Linked DNA regions of Homo sapiens: region 1 is linked to region 2. The links are contacts of gene promoters, found by promoter capture Hi-C in blood cells and fetal thymus (Javierre and others, 2016). All regions are on one chromosome and are shown on one strand. The core of a region is centred on a gene start or on the middle of the fragment in contact, and the rest is flanking DNA. Distances in the headings are between cores, read along the strand shown. Region 1 overlaps DDX6 (DEAD-box helicase 6). Region 2 holds the start of PAFAH1B2 (platelet activating factor acetylhydrolase 1b catalytic subunit 2).

Region 1 (7,413 bases), core at 147-2,646, 1.6 Mb after region 2:
GCTGAGGTAGGCAGATCACCTGAGGTCAGGAGTTCGAGACCAGCCTGGCCAACATGGTGAAACCCCATCTCTGTTAAAAATACAAAAATGGTCATGGTGCGCACCTGTAGTCCCAGCTACTTGGGAGCCTGAGGTAGGAGAACTGCTTGAGCCCAGGAGGAGGAGGTTGCAGTGGGCCAAGATTGCGCCACTGCACTCCAGCCTGGGCAATGGAGCAAGACTCAGTCTCACAAAAAAAAAAAAAAAGAGAGAGAAAAGAAAAGAAAATACTGTTGTCTTGTTCTTACAGCCAGCATTAAAGACTCTGCTTATTAAGGTAAAGCAAACAAAGAAGAAAACCTTGGCTTTAACCCTTTGGTCTTAAATTTCTTCCCTCATCACAGATAAGTGAACCATTATTTCCAGTTGTTCCAGAGGCTCCCATTACCCTGTCACCTCAGGTTTTCTCTTTTGTGGTTCTGTGGTGCCAGTAGTCTGTAGTTTTTAACAGGCTGCCTGCACACTACTCAGTTTTACAGTATTGAAAAAGTAAGATAGGTGGTCTCTGATGGTCTCATAACGACTTGCTGGGTCAGGTTCTTTAAAGTGTAAACCTTTTTTTCAATCAAGTGAGGCAGAACAGAATTAGACTAGAGGTATCCTAATCCCCCTTTTCAGTTCATCTTTTGACTGACTTGATTAAGGCCATTGACTTCTATTCCTTTGCCCTCTTTGACAGGGATTATACCCTACAAAAACTGTTCAAGGATAAAGCTTTAACAAAGTACATGTGATAGACTGTAAGTTAAGACACCCTGATATTTTGCCTTATATGATGGCCATTATGATTAACAGTCAGTGAATTCAGCACATCCACACTGCCTCTTACCAGTGTTTCTCAGGAAATAATGAAAAGCAAGAGAATTCAAGTCAAGTTCAAAAAGCTGTGAAATACAAGAGGAAATTATGAGGAACTGCCAGGGAGAAGGCAAAGGAGGAAGGAAACGAAAACTTTTTTTAAAACTTACTATGTGCTCAGCACAACTTTCAAGTTAGGTACTTTGTTTTACAACTGACAAAATGGATCCTAAACAGGATTAGTTTGCCCAAGGTCACAAAGCAAGAAATGCTTTAGCCAGTATTTGAACTTAGATCTGCACATAACATGTAGGCAAGAAGTTGGAGAAAATGGAACTCTCATACACTGCTAGTGGGAATGTACAGCTACGCTGGAAACCAGCCTTGCAGTTCCTCAAAAGGTTAAAAAGAGTTACCATATGAACTAGCAATTCTAGGTATACAGCGAAGAGAAATAAAAACATCTCCACACAAAAACCTGCACCTGAATTTTCATAGCAGCATTATCCTTAATAGCCAGTTCCTTCTATGTTTTTTTTTATAATAGTACAAACTTTATTCATAAATAAAACTTCATAAGGTTAAAGCAGGGTCAGTTCCTATTTTAAAAAGGGAACAGGGGAAGGCAGCCTGCTATTTTATTTAAAATCACAAGTTAGGTTTTTCAGACGGATGACAGTTGAGATCATTAAATCCCCTTCCTACTTCTCAGATTTTCACAAAATAGCACATTAAATCCTCAGTCCTTGGAAAACAACCCCAAATGTCTACCAACTGATGACTGGATAAATCAGAAGTAATAGAGCCATACAATAAAATATTATTCAGGAAAAAGGAATGGAATATTGATACAAGCTACAACACAGATGAACTCGGAAAACATTACGCTAAGTCAAAGAAGCCAGTCACAAAAAAAACACATACTATAGGATTCTATTTATATGACATGTCCAGACTAGGCAAAGCTAGAATGACAGAAAGTATACCAGTGGTTGTTTAGGGGTGTGGGAAAATGAGGTGTGACTGCTAAAAGGGTTTCTTTTGTGGGACTGATCAAAATGTTCTAAAATTTATTGTGGTAATGGTTGCAGAACTCTAAATGCACTAAAAAGCATTAAATTGTATACTTTTGATGTGTGATGTCATTTATATCTCAATAAAGCTATTACCCCCAAAAAACAAAACCCCAAAAAACCAACCCCACAAGCTTAGGGCTGACATCTGCCACCTTAGGTCTCCAAATTCACATTCACTGTAACGTTTAGATAATGACTGAAGAGTATTTGTTGTGTTTTGGTTACTCTAGTATCCCTTTACTAAGTAACACCCCAATTTCCTTCTAAGGAATTACATATGCCCTGGTCTCCCCTGTCCCAACAGACCAAGCCTCACCAATTTTCTAAGCCAAGTGGTAGACACATAGCCCACACTGGGCCAGCGGAATGTTGCCTCCTAAGAATCTAAATTGTTATAGTGCATCCATTACAGCTTCCTAAGTCCTTCAGAGCTATCTCAATTCTTAGTCATTTCCAAGTATGTTTCTCTAGCCTTCTCAATCTTGTGAATTCCCGTTATTTTTCCAATAAATTTCCTTTTGCTTAAGTTAGATCGAGTTGGTTTCTGATGCCTATAATTAAAGAATGGTTTATTTTCCAATCTCCTAGCATTGAGAGGCATTTTACAAAAGTGTGGTACCAACAAAAGCTCAACATCACCCAACTAGCTGCATTTACACTGACTGCTTCCTCTTATTTTCCAAACCTTAATTTCCAAGAGGGAAAAAAAACCTATGGTTAAAGGCCGGGCGCGGTGGCTCACGCCTGTAATCCCAACACTTTGGGAGGCCGAGGTGGGCAGACCATGAGGTCAGGAGATGGAGACCATCCTGGCTAACATGGTGAAACCCCGTCTCTACTAAAAAAATACAAAAAAATTAGCCGGGCGTGGTGGCAGGCGCCTGCAGTCCCAGCCACTTGGGAGGCTGAGGTAGGGGAATGGCGTGAACCCAGGAGGCAGAACTTGCAGTGAGCCAAGATTGCACCACTGCACTCCAGCCTGGGCGACAGAGCGAGACTCTGTCTCAAAACAAAATAAAACAAAACAAAAAAACAACCTATGGTTACTCCAGACGAGGTAGCAATGATTGTTACAAATGTCCCCTGCTTAACAGGAAAAAAAAAAAGGGAGATGGTAATTTCTAATTATATCTCTAATTTAGGCTGGGGATGGTGGCTCACACCTGTAATCTCAACCCTCTGCAAGGCTGAGGCAGGAGAACTGCTTGAGGCCAGGAGTTCAAGACCAGCCAGTGTGACAAACTGAGACTCTGTCTCCCCGACCCCACCCAAAAAGAAAACAAAACAAAACACACACCAAAAAAAAAAACAAAACAAACAAACAAAAAAAACCTTTGAGTTTTTAGGAAATATTTTTTTCAATCATGATAAACCGATTGTTAGCAGGAAGAATGACTTATTTACAGGATTCAGAATGCTATAATTCCTAACTATAAATAGTAAACTATTAATCCTCATTAGACCTTAGCTGACCTGGCACAAAATTTTGTTGCCAACAGTACGGAGCTTCCATGTTTCCCTCAATAATCAACTACTTCTCATTTCTTCACCTTCTTAGAGTTTCGAAAAAGTCTTCAAGAGGTGTTCCCAGGGTTTAGAAGCAACGAGAGAGGCCATCTTTCTCAATCATAACCCCAAAGTTAATATAAAGTTTCAAATAATGCTAAGCAGACAAAAACAGTATATTCTTAAGCCTTCCAAAGAAGTCTAGGTTCCTATAAAGCTATACCTTTAGAATGGCAATTATTCTACTGGCCACAGCATCCAGACCTAGAACTGGTCACAGATGGCTCTAGAAATACGTTGTGGGAGCAATCTGTAGTATATCTGGTTCCAGCCTGTCAATGTAAAAGCTCTTTTGAGAGCATATAATTTTAAGTGCCTAATTCTCTAACAGTCTTTTTTTTTTTTTTTTTTTTGTGAGACAGGGTCTTGCTCTGTTGCCCAGGATGGAGTGCAGTGACACAATCCTGGCTCACTTACAGCCTCAACCTCCTGAACATCTAAGACTACATGTCCCCCATGCCCAGCTAATTTTTGTACAGTCAGGGTTTTGTCATGTTGTTTAGGCTGGTTTTGAACCCCTGGACTCAAGCAATCCACCCACCTTGGCTTCCCAAAGTGCTGGGATTATAGGCATGAGCCACTGCACCCAGCCAATTCTCCAAATCTCACAGCCAAACTGCAACTAAATTCCATCTCAAACAAATATTCAAATGCAGAAGACTCACCCATCTAATCAAGGCAGTTTTAATATTTAGGGGAAAAAAAATGCCTGGATAAAACTGTAAAACCAAGCATGATAGAAGAGATACTTTTAGGAATGGGGGAGGGATGACAAAAATAAAACGAGAAGGTAGATAAGAATGGAAAGAATACTAGAAGACAGCCTGCCATGAGGTTATATTTTACCAGGGGGGTGATGGGTGCACCCAAATCTCAGAAATAGCAACTAAATAATTTACTTGGCCAGGCGTGGTGGCTCACGCCTGTAATTCCAGTACTTTGGGAGGCCGAGGAGAGTGGATCGCCTGAGGTCAGGAGTTCAAGACCAACCTGGACAACATGGTGAAACCCCGTCTCCACCAGAAATACAAAAATCAGCCGGGTATGCTGGTGCCCGCCTGTAATCCCAAGTCACTTGGGAGGCCGAGGCACGAGAATCGCTTGAACCCGGGAGGCAGAGGTTGCAGTAAGCCGAGAGCACACCATTGCACTCCAGCCTGAGCGACAGAGCAAAACCCTGTCTCAAAAACAAAAGAATTTACTCATGTAACCAAACACCACCTGTTCCCCCAAAAAACCTATGAAAATAAAAATTTAAAAAATTTTTTTACTAGGGGATCTGTAAATTTTGTTTCGGTTCTAAAATCCTAATATTTGTGACTTGTAACTCTGATTGATTCTAAGAAACACATAATCTTGTGCTTTCCATGGATCCCCAGGACAAAACAATAGGAAAGAAAAAGGCAATAAAAAAAAAGAAAAAGGCAATACAAGTGGTGACCTTGAGTATCTAAAACAATATACTCATACAATACCTTGCTATTTCAAAATACTTTGGTTGTACACTACATTTGATCTTAACAATAAAAATCCTGTGAGGGAGAGTACTTATTTCTACTTTACAGAAAAAGCTGGATGTCAGATTGGTTAAGTGGCTGAAGAGTTAATTGCCTATATGCTATAACAACACTCAGAGTACAAGTAACAAAGTTAATTTTAAATTTTAATACAAGGTAAGAAATAGGAGTCAGCAAATATCCACTAAGAATGAGGACTGGGCTAAGTGCAGTGGTTCACATCTATAATTCTAGCACATTGGGAAGCCAAGGCAGGAGGACTGCTTGAGCCCAGGAGGTCAAGACCAGCCTGGTCAACATGGCAAAACCTTGACTCTACCAAAAACAAAAACAAAAACAAAAACAAAAAACAACCAGGTGTGCTGGTACTACACTATCATCCTTACTCAGGAGGCTGGGGCAGGAGTATCACGTGAGCCCAGGAGTTTGAGGCTGCAGTGAGCTAAGATTCTGACACTGCATCCAGCCCAGGCAACTTAGCAAGACTCAGTCTCTTTAAAACAAATTTAAAACAATTACGTCTCCTAAATTAACTAATTTCCTTTTTTGAAACTATTATATAAAATAACCCATAACATTTTTGAGCATTTATCACGTACTAGGCATTGTACTAAGCATGTGAATTATCTCACTTAATCTTTACAACAACCCTATGGTATTATACTATTACCTCAATTATATAGGTCAGGAGTCTAAGACTTATAGATCCCAAATAACCAATTTATGAAGGAGTAGAGCTGGGATTTAATCTGGGCAGTTCCCTACACCAAGTTCACCTGCAGACATGAGTTACCTAAGTTTCATCAAAGCACGCTAAATAAGCACAGGCACTATGCTAAGTACTAGAGATAAAAGTTGAATGATGCAGTTCCTACTGTAAAGGAACTCTCATAAGACCTCAGTGGGCCAGGTGTGTTGGCTCACGTCTGTAATCCCAACACTTTGGGAGACTGAAGCAGGCAGATCACAAGGTCAGGAGATCGAGACCATCCTGGCTAACATGGTGAAACCCCATCTCTACTAAAACACAAAAAATTAGCCGGGTGCTGTGGTGCACGCCTGTAGTCCCCGCTATTCGGGAGGCTGAGGCAGGGGAATCGCGTGAACCCAGGAGTCGGAGATTGCAGTGAGTGGACATCGCGCCACTGCACTCCAGCCTGGCAACAGAGTAAGGCTCTGTCTCAAAAAAAAAAAAAAGAAAGAAAAAAAAAGACTTCAGTGTAGATAAAATGGCTTAACATGAACTACATCATAGTAGATTCCTAGGTATTTCTAATACCTACACCCAAATTACCCCTCTGATGATGCATATCCTTGTTTTGATACTTTATCCAGCCAAAAGCACACTCTCAACTCTGGGCAATCATTACCCAGCGTTCTCTGCTTGGAACACAGCTCAATTCTTCCAGGTTGTCCCATCTTCCTCTAATGACTACATACATACGCAATTCCAACTAGAAAGGTACTCATCATATTACAGTGAATTACCTGTACAATTAGCTGTCCTTTCCAGACTGTAAGACAGCAACCATATATCTGTCTTATTCATTATAGAATTCCCAAGGTCAAACACTTTCTAGGTCACTCCACACATGTTGGCTCAATGAAAAAGTACTCAGTGATGTCACAGGGTTTGTCCTTAGCACAGCCTGAATTCAATCATTTCATCAATTTAAGTATGTCTGTTGTCATCATTTATCAAACTGGCCTATGTATAATGCATGTTTATATGTACGTGTATATTTATGTGTATGTGTGTGTGGATATGTATATACATGCATTTATTTCCTTGCTCTTTCCACTGAAAGGACCAAGTAGCAAACAGGGTACCTAATGCCTGGGTCTTGGTCCCTAATACTACTCCACACTAAAAAGAATCAAGGATCCTTGGATGCCAATGCTGGGCCAGGATAGGTATAAGATAAGCCTGCATCATGATATGTCAAAAAGCAAGAAAGGGGCCGGGTACGATGGCTCACATCTATAATCCCAGCACTTTGGGAAGCCAAAGTGGGCGATCATTTGAGGTCAGGAGTTCAAGACCAGCCTGGTCTACAGGGTGAAACCCTGTCTCTACTAAAAATGCAAAAATTAGTTAGGTGTGGTAGCACACATCTGTAATTCCAGCTACTGGGGAGGCTGAGACACAAGAACTGCTTGAACCCAGGATGGGAAGGCTGCGGTGAGCCAAGATCATGCCACTGCACTCCAGCCTCTCTGACAGAGCTAGACTCCATCTCAAAAAAGAGAAAAAAAAAAAAAAAAACCAAGAAAGTACTCAAGAAAAATGAAGGGGACACATCATAAAAACATAGGAACCAGGCTGAAAGAGCTTACATTGGCCAGATCTAGGCTATTTTTAGAATAATAATAAAAAAAAAATTGAAAAAAATTGAAAAAAATGGTGAGTATAAGTC
Region 2 (7,611 bases), core at 1,639-4,138:
ACCACTCCTATTCAACATAGTGTTGGAGGTTCTGGCCAGGGCAATCAGGCAAGAGAAAGAAATAAAGGGTATTCAATTAGGAAAAGAGGAAGTCAAATTTTCCCTGTTTGCAGATGACATGATTGTATATTTAGAAAACCCCATTGTCTCAGCCCAAGATCTCCTTAAGCTGATAAGCAACTTCAGCAAAGTCTCAGGATACAAAATCAATGTGCAAAAATCACAAGCACTCCTATACACCAATAACAGACAATAACAGAGAGCCAAATCATGAGTGAACTCCCATTCACAATTGCTACAAAGAGAATAAAATACCTAGGAATCCAACTTACAAGGGATGTGAAGGACCTCGTCAAGGAGAACTACAAACCACTGCTCAGTGAAATAAAAGAGGACACAAACAAATGGAAGAACATTCCATGCTCATGGATAGGAAGAATCAGTATTGTGAAAATGGCCATACTGCCCAAGGTAATTTATAGATTCAATGCCATCCCCATCAAGCTACCAAAGACTTTCTTCACAGAATTGGAAAAAACTACTTTAAACTTCATATGGAACCAAAAAAGAGCCCGCATTGCCAAGACAATCCTAAGCAAAAAGAACAAAGCTGGAGGCACCACGCTACCTGACTTCAAACTATACTACAAGGCTACAGTAACCAAAACGGCATGGTACTAGCACCAAAACAGATATATAGACCAACAGAACAGAACAGAGGCCTCAGAAATAACACCACACATCTACAACCATCTGCTCTTTGACAAATTGACAAAAACAAGAAATGGGGAAAGGATTCCCTATTTAATAAATGGTGCCAGGAAAACTGGCTAGCCATATGTAGAAAGCTGAAACTGGATCCCTTCCTTACACCTTATACAAAAATTAATTCAAGATGGAGTAAAGACTTAAATGTTAGACCTAAAACCATAAAAACCCTAGAAGAAAACATAGGCAATACCATTCAGGACATAGGCATGGGCAAAGACTTCCTGACTAAAACACCACAAGCAATGGCAACAAAAGCCAGAATAGACAAATGGGATATAATTAAACTAAAGAGCTTCTGCATGGCAAAAGAAACTACCATCAGAGCGAACAGGCAACCTACAGAATGGGAGAAAATTTTTGCAATCTACCCATCTGACAAAGGGCTAATATCCAGAATCTACAAAGAACTTAAACAAATTTACAAGAAAAAAAACAAACAACCCCATCAAAAAGTGGGCAAAGGATATGAACAGACACTTCTCAAAAGAAGACATTTATGCAACCAACAGACACATGAAAAAATGCTCATCATCACTGGTCATCAGAGAAATGCAAATCAAAACCACAATGAGATACCATCTCATGCCAGTTAGAATGGCGATCATTAAAAAGTCAGGAAACAACAGATGCTGGAGAGGATGTGGAGAAAGAGGAACACTTTTACACTGTTGGAGGGAGTGTAAATTAATTCAACCATTGTGAAAGACAGTGTGGCGATTCCTCAAGGATCTAGAACTAGAAATACCATTTGACCCAGCCATCCCATTACTGGGTATATACCCAAAGGATTATAAATCATGCTGCTATAAAGATACATGCACACGTATGTTTATTGTGGCACTATTCACAATAGCAAAGACTTGGAACCAACCCAAATGTCCATCAATGATAGACTGGATTAAGAAAATGTGGCACATATACACCACGAAATACTATGCAGCTGTAAAAAGGATGAGTTCATATCCTTTGCAGGGACATGGACGAAACTGGAAACCATCATTCTCAGCAAACTATCACAAGGACAGAAAACCAAACACCGCATGTTCTCATAGGTGGGAATTGAACACTGAGAACACTTGGACAAAGGGCGGGGAACATCACACACGGGGGCCTGTCGGGGACTGCGGGGCTGGGGGAGGGATAGCATTAGGAGAAATACGGAATGTAAATGACGAGTTGATGGGTGCAGCAAACCAACATGGCACACGTATACCTATGTAACAAACCTGCACGTTGTGCACATGTACCCTAGAACTTGAATAAAAAAAAAAAAAAAAAAGAAAAATTACTTGACATATCTTGACATTTTAGGCTCCCAGGATTTTACAGTATTCTTAACAGGTTTTGTCAGCAAAATCAACCCCCACCCCCGCATCAGTTTAAGAGCCCTGGAAGGCTCTGCCTATTCACCAGCATAGAGCTGAGATCCTTAAAGGGCCAGTTCAGGGCACTGCTCCAGCAACCGTTGCGCTGCTATAAGCTTGAGCACATCTCTTGCCCCTCCTCTCTACTTTTATAGATCCTGCATTTATTTAGCATATAATCTTTTCAATATTGACTTTGTATATGTATGTCTTCCCCTAAACTGGATGTATCTTTTAAGGAAAAGCCTGGGGTTCGTCATCCCCCTATGTATCACCTTTACAGGCGGTCACCCAAAATCTCCACATTCATCATAGAAACAGAAATTCCACTAATAAATGTCAGGTACTGCCTCCTTAACCTTGGTCCGCTATTTCCCTCCCACTTTCAGCAGTCTGGTTTATTCCATGGGTGGAAGAGGAAGCCAAGTTGGCTGAGTGTGAAGGGAATGGCGTCAGTGTGACTTCACGCCACATCGTCCCGAATGCCAGCTCCACACTGCGGTGGCACGAACGCAGGATTGAGAGATGCAGCTGGAGTAAAGAGAGAAGCCCATGTCCCTCAGACGCCACACAAAATGGGGGTAACCGCGAGAACAAAGCAGGGTACCCAACGGGGTGTGGCGGGACACCTGGGCGCACGCCGCCAGCGCCCGGGAGAGCGAAGGCGGGGAGAGAGGAACCACGCTGAGGCGTGGCAGGATGGGGGCGGGACTTCCGGAAGCCATTTGGCTGAGTGGCAGGGGAACCGGAAGTGGAGGAGCTGCTGCTGGTGCTGGGGCCGGAGGAGGGACGCGCCGGAGCGGGACCGACGGGACCGAGCGAGCGACCGACGCGCCACCCGCCGACGCCTCAGCCGCTTGGGGCCCGCACGGACCCTCTACTTCAGTGAGTGCATCCAGGGTCGCAGGGAACCGGTGGCTTAGAGGCGGGGGTCGGAAGGGGCTGCGAGGTGTTATTGTGAGAGGCCCGCGACCTCCCCTCCCCCACCCTTGCGGCCCCTCCCCCCACGCCGCCCCATCCACTTGGGGGGGGCCTCGCGAGCGCGCGCCTTCTCTGCGGGCCCAGCGTCGGCTTCCCAGCAGCCGGCGCAGCTAGTTTTCGCTCTGAGAGCCCTTTCCCGATATTCCATACCGAAAGCTGGCGTTTCTCCTCAGCCGCCGGCCGGCGCCTCCACGGCCTTTCCCAGGAGGGTAGCGCGGCGGGCGCCCCGCCCCGCCCTGCCCTGCCCTGCCCTGCCGGGCCCACCCGCGGTAGGCCTTGCGCACCCCAGCTCGCCCCGGCTGGGCGCTGCAGCTCCTGCCCGGGTCTCCGCTGCTGCCTTTTCCCTTTATCACAGGGGTCTAACTTCTCACTCTTCTCTCCCCTCGCGTCTGGTCGGAGGCCAAAACCAGTTACTCCGTTGTGTTTTTACCGAGCACTTTTCCCTCCTCCTTTTGTTGAAAAATTTCAACTCTTTAGAAACTTCTCCGTTGCCTCTTAGGATGTGTTTATTCAAAAGTTGCATAGACCGTCACCACTCGGAAGGGATTATTTCTTGGAAGGCTTTCCAGCCCCCATCTCATCTTAGACATGAATGTGCTCGGAGCGGCTGGTGACCTGCCCAAGGTCAGCCAGCTAGATAAACCTGTCAGCGGAGAGGTTTGGGGGGATGTTTTTTTCCTGGCTCACCGTCCGTTTGCCAGATCCGTGCCTTCTGGTCTACAGGTTTGATTGACCCGTTGCGTGGTGACTCATGCTTCTGCTTTTCATAGCTCGCAGGCCAGCGTTGCTTTTCAGAATTTATACACAAACAAGAACTAACACTCGGAGCTTTCGCCTCTTTGTAGAGCTTACCCGTAGAGAAAGGAAAGACCACCCGGATCCACCCTAGGACCTCATTTTGTACAGCTTGAAATTATGGGAAGGGGTTGGGCCGGGGGTAAAGGTGTGGAGAAAGTGGAAGGAGAAAGTGCTTAATTAAGATTGTCTTTGCCTTGGATGTGCCTTGTGTCTTTGGCTTCTTCTGGGCACATTGTTCTGACATAAAGGTTGCCTCCTTGTGGGGGAGAAGGGGAGGATTAGTTTGTTGGCTTGGGCATTTGATCATAAATTATGGAGGTGCTGGACCGGAGGAACCACCCACCAGCCCACGGAGGCTACCGGGCATTCAGGATAAGGGCCGCCTTCTTCTTCAGAATAACCATACCCACTCCCTCTGAAACAAAGTGGAGAGTCTTAGGTCTGAGTGGAAACTCTAAATCTTTTAATTCTTGGTTCAACTTTCTTCATCTGTTTTCCTGGTTCAGACTAAAACATCTAACTCAGCTGGAGAAGTTATAACGCTTTGTTGTTGGACGTGGTTTCTCATTAAATACATTGCACTATGCTGGTATAAGCACTTGGAAATTCTAGTGCTGTATTGTCATAGTAAGTAGAGAATATAGAAAAGGCAGGAAAATCGTGCAAGTCGGTTACTCCTCGTCTTCCCAGAGAACTCACTTTAATGGACAACAAAGCTTCCCCTGGAGTACAGTCTGTTGTGGCAAATTAACAAAACTTGTTCTTCAGACCTTTTATTTGCATTCTGCTTGGTCTTTCTTTCTTTTTTTTTTTTTTTTTTTGTGTGTGTGACGGAGTCTCAGTCTGTCGCCCAGGCTGGAGTGCAGTGGCGCGATCTCTACTCACTACAACCTCTGCCTCCCGGTTCAAGCTTATAGGCATGTGCCACCACACCCAGCTAATTTTGTATTTTTTTTTTTTAGTAGAGACGGGGTTTCGCCACGTTGGCCAGGCAGGTCTTGAACTCCCGACCTCAAGTGATCCACCCGCCTCGGCCTCCCAAAGTGCTGGGATAACAGGCGCAGGAAACCCAAAGTCACTCAGAAGTTTGCGTCTTACCACTGGGTAGCTCTTAGTTCGTTCTTATTTTATGTGTCCATAAGAGCAGATAATTCTTCGTTTCAATTGGAAAGAATACAACAGCTGGAGCCTGAGCAACATGGCAAGACCTCGTCTCTACGAAATTTAAAAATTAGCCATGTGTGGTGGCGTGGGCCTGCAGTACCAGTTACTCTGGAAGGAAGAAATGGGAGGATCACTTGAGCCCAGGAGATCAAGGCTGCAGTGAGCTGTGTTACGCCACTTCACTCCAGCTAACGACTGACTGAGACCCTGTCGGGGTAAAAAACAAAAAACAAAACACAGCCGGCTGGGTGCTGTGACTCATTCCTGTAATTCCAGCACTTTGGGAGGCCAAGGCAGCAGGATCACTTGAGCCTAGGAGTTCAAGATCAGCCTGAACAATATGGTGAGATCCCCATCTATTGGAAAAAAAAAAAAAAAAGGTCAGGCAGCTATTCGGGAGGATCGCTTGAGTGCAGGAGGCGGAAACTGCAGTGAGCCATGATTTCTCCACTGTGCTTCAGTCTGGGCATCAGAGTGAAGCCCTATCTCAAAAAAAACAAAAAAAAAGCCGGCCGGGCGTGGTGGCTCACGCCTGTAATCCCAGCACTTTGGGAAGCCAAGGTGGGCGGATCACCTGATGTCAGGAGTTCGAGACCACCCTGACCAATATGATGAAACCCCGTCTTCACTAAAAATACAAAAATTAGCTGGGCATGGTGGCAGGCACCTGTAATCCCAGTACTCGGGATGCTGAGACGGGAGAATTGCTTGAACCCGAGAGGCGGAGGTTGCAGTGAGCCAAGGTCGCGCCGTTGTACTCCAGTCTGGGCAACGGGAGCGAAACTCTGTCTCAAAAAAAGAAAAGCCAGTTTAATTTTTATTTTTGAGACAGGGTCTTGCTCTGTCCCTGAGGCTGGAGTGCAGTGGCGCACCACCACCCCCAGCTAATTGTTGTGGTTTTTGTAGAGACACAGTTTCACCATGTTACCCAGGCTGGTCTCAAACTCCTGGGCTCAAGCAGTCCACCTGCCTTAGTGTCCCAAAGTGCTGGGATTACAGGCATGAGACACTGTACCCAGCCACAACAGTTTCTCTGATTTCCAAATTGTTTTAATCCTCTATATGCATAGTCTTCTAGGTTGTGCATTTCCAGCTTTGTTCTTAAAGAGGAGATTGTGTGAGTTTGTGGCTCAGTTTTTCTTTTCCTGGTGTTTAAAAATGTTACCAAGCCATGGGCATCAGTAAAACTGAAAGCTGCTTTGTAATAAGATTTTGATTGACAAAATAATACAAAATCAGAGTCAGAAGACACAAAGAAACACATTTCTGCTCAGATACTTTGCCATTGTAGGGGAAGAAGGATCACCTTGTATTCATAGCTATAGACAAAAAGACTGTGTAATTAGGAATATTTTGTGACCTCCCAGTTCTTCCTGCCTTGTAGCTTCAGATAAGTGACATTTTGTTCCTCGGTTTCTCTATGTGTATGCTTTTTTTATTTTCCCATGAAGAAATTTAGGGTTGAGATGGAAGTGTTTTGCTCAGGGTATCAGAATGCCATTAAATTTGGGTAGTAGAAAGTATAAGTGAAACAACTTAGTAAATTAGAATTAGAATTTATCTTTTTTCTTTTTTTTTTCTTTTTTTTTTTTTTAGATGGAGTCTTGCTCTGTCACCCAGAGTGGGGTGCAGTGGTGTGATCTCTGCTCACTGCAACCTCCACCTCCTGGGTTCAAGAGATTCTCATGCCTCAGCCTCCTGAGTAGCTGGGATTACAAGTATGTGCCACCCAACCTGGCTAATCTTTTGTATTTTTAGTGGAGACAGGATTTCACCATGTTGGCCAGGCTGGTCTCGAACTCCTGACCTCAGGTGATCCTCCTGCCTCGGCCCCCCCAAAATGCTGGGATTACAGGTGTGAGCCACCATGCCCGGCCTCTATGTAGTCTTTTCTAATCAGAACATAATATCATTTGCTCAAGAGTAGGCTTTGGAAGTCTGTCACTCTGGTTTCAAATCCCACCTGTCCTGTGTTGTTTACCAGCTCTGCTGTCATGGAGAAGTTTCCTTAGGTCTCTTTGAGCATCATGTTTATTTAAATAACAAAGCTCCTAGCACAGGGTCTGGTAAATAGTAAGTTCTTAATAAATGTTATTTTAGATCAGTTGTTTGTCTGTTGGATGAACTCTGAAAATCCATGCCTGTTTATTGAATTGTAGCTCTAAGCTGGGAGTGGTAGTGTGTGCCTGTAGTCCCAGCTACTTGGGAAGCTGAGGCAGGAGGATCACTTAAGCCTAGGAGTTTGAATCCAGCCTGGACAACATAGTGAGACCCTTCTCTTATAATAATAAAGAGATCGTATAATTTATATAGATCATTGGTCTTGAAAGAGTGTGTGTATGCACCTCTGGGGATGCATAAGATGATCCATTGGAATATAGGAAAAAAATCTCAGAACATTTATTTACTTAGAGACAAGGTCTCACTGTCACTCAGGCGGGAGTGCAGTAGCATGATCACAGCTCACTGCAGCCTCCACCTCCTGGGCTCGAGCGATTCTCCTCCCTCAGCCTCCCAAGTAGCTGGGATTACA

Evidence for each region. The method cuts DNA at HindIII sites, captures the fragments that hold promoters and counts their contacts. A CHiCAGO score of 5 or more calls a contact.
Region 1: a contact is called between a fragment that was not itself captured here and the fragment with the promoter of PAFAH1B2 in region 2, in 1 of 17 cell types (monocytes). The highest score is 6.0, in monocytes.

Annotation. Positions count from the first base shown.
Region 1 is chr11:118,770,653-118,778,065 of GRCh38, forward strand. The region is part of intron 4 of DDX6 (DEAD-box helicase 6); the gene reads right to left. Among named protein-coding and RNA genes, the nearest start is that of DDX6, 17 kb to the right of the region's middle. The HindIII fragment of the contact is 1,291 bases long and covers 752-2,042 here.
Region 2 is chr11:117,141,399-117,149,009 of GRCh38, forward strand. PAFAH1B2 (platelet activating factor acetylhydrolase 1b catalytic subunit 2) reads left to right here and starts at 2,889. Exons shown (of 6, transcript NM_002572.4): 1 at 2,889-3,020. RefSeq lists a silencer at 3,099-3,418 and an enhancer at 3,969-4,148. The HindIII fragment of the contact is 2,379 bases long and covers 2,250-4,628 here.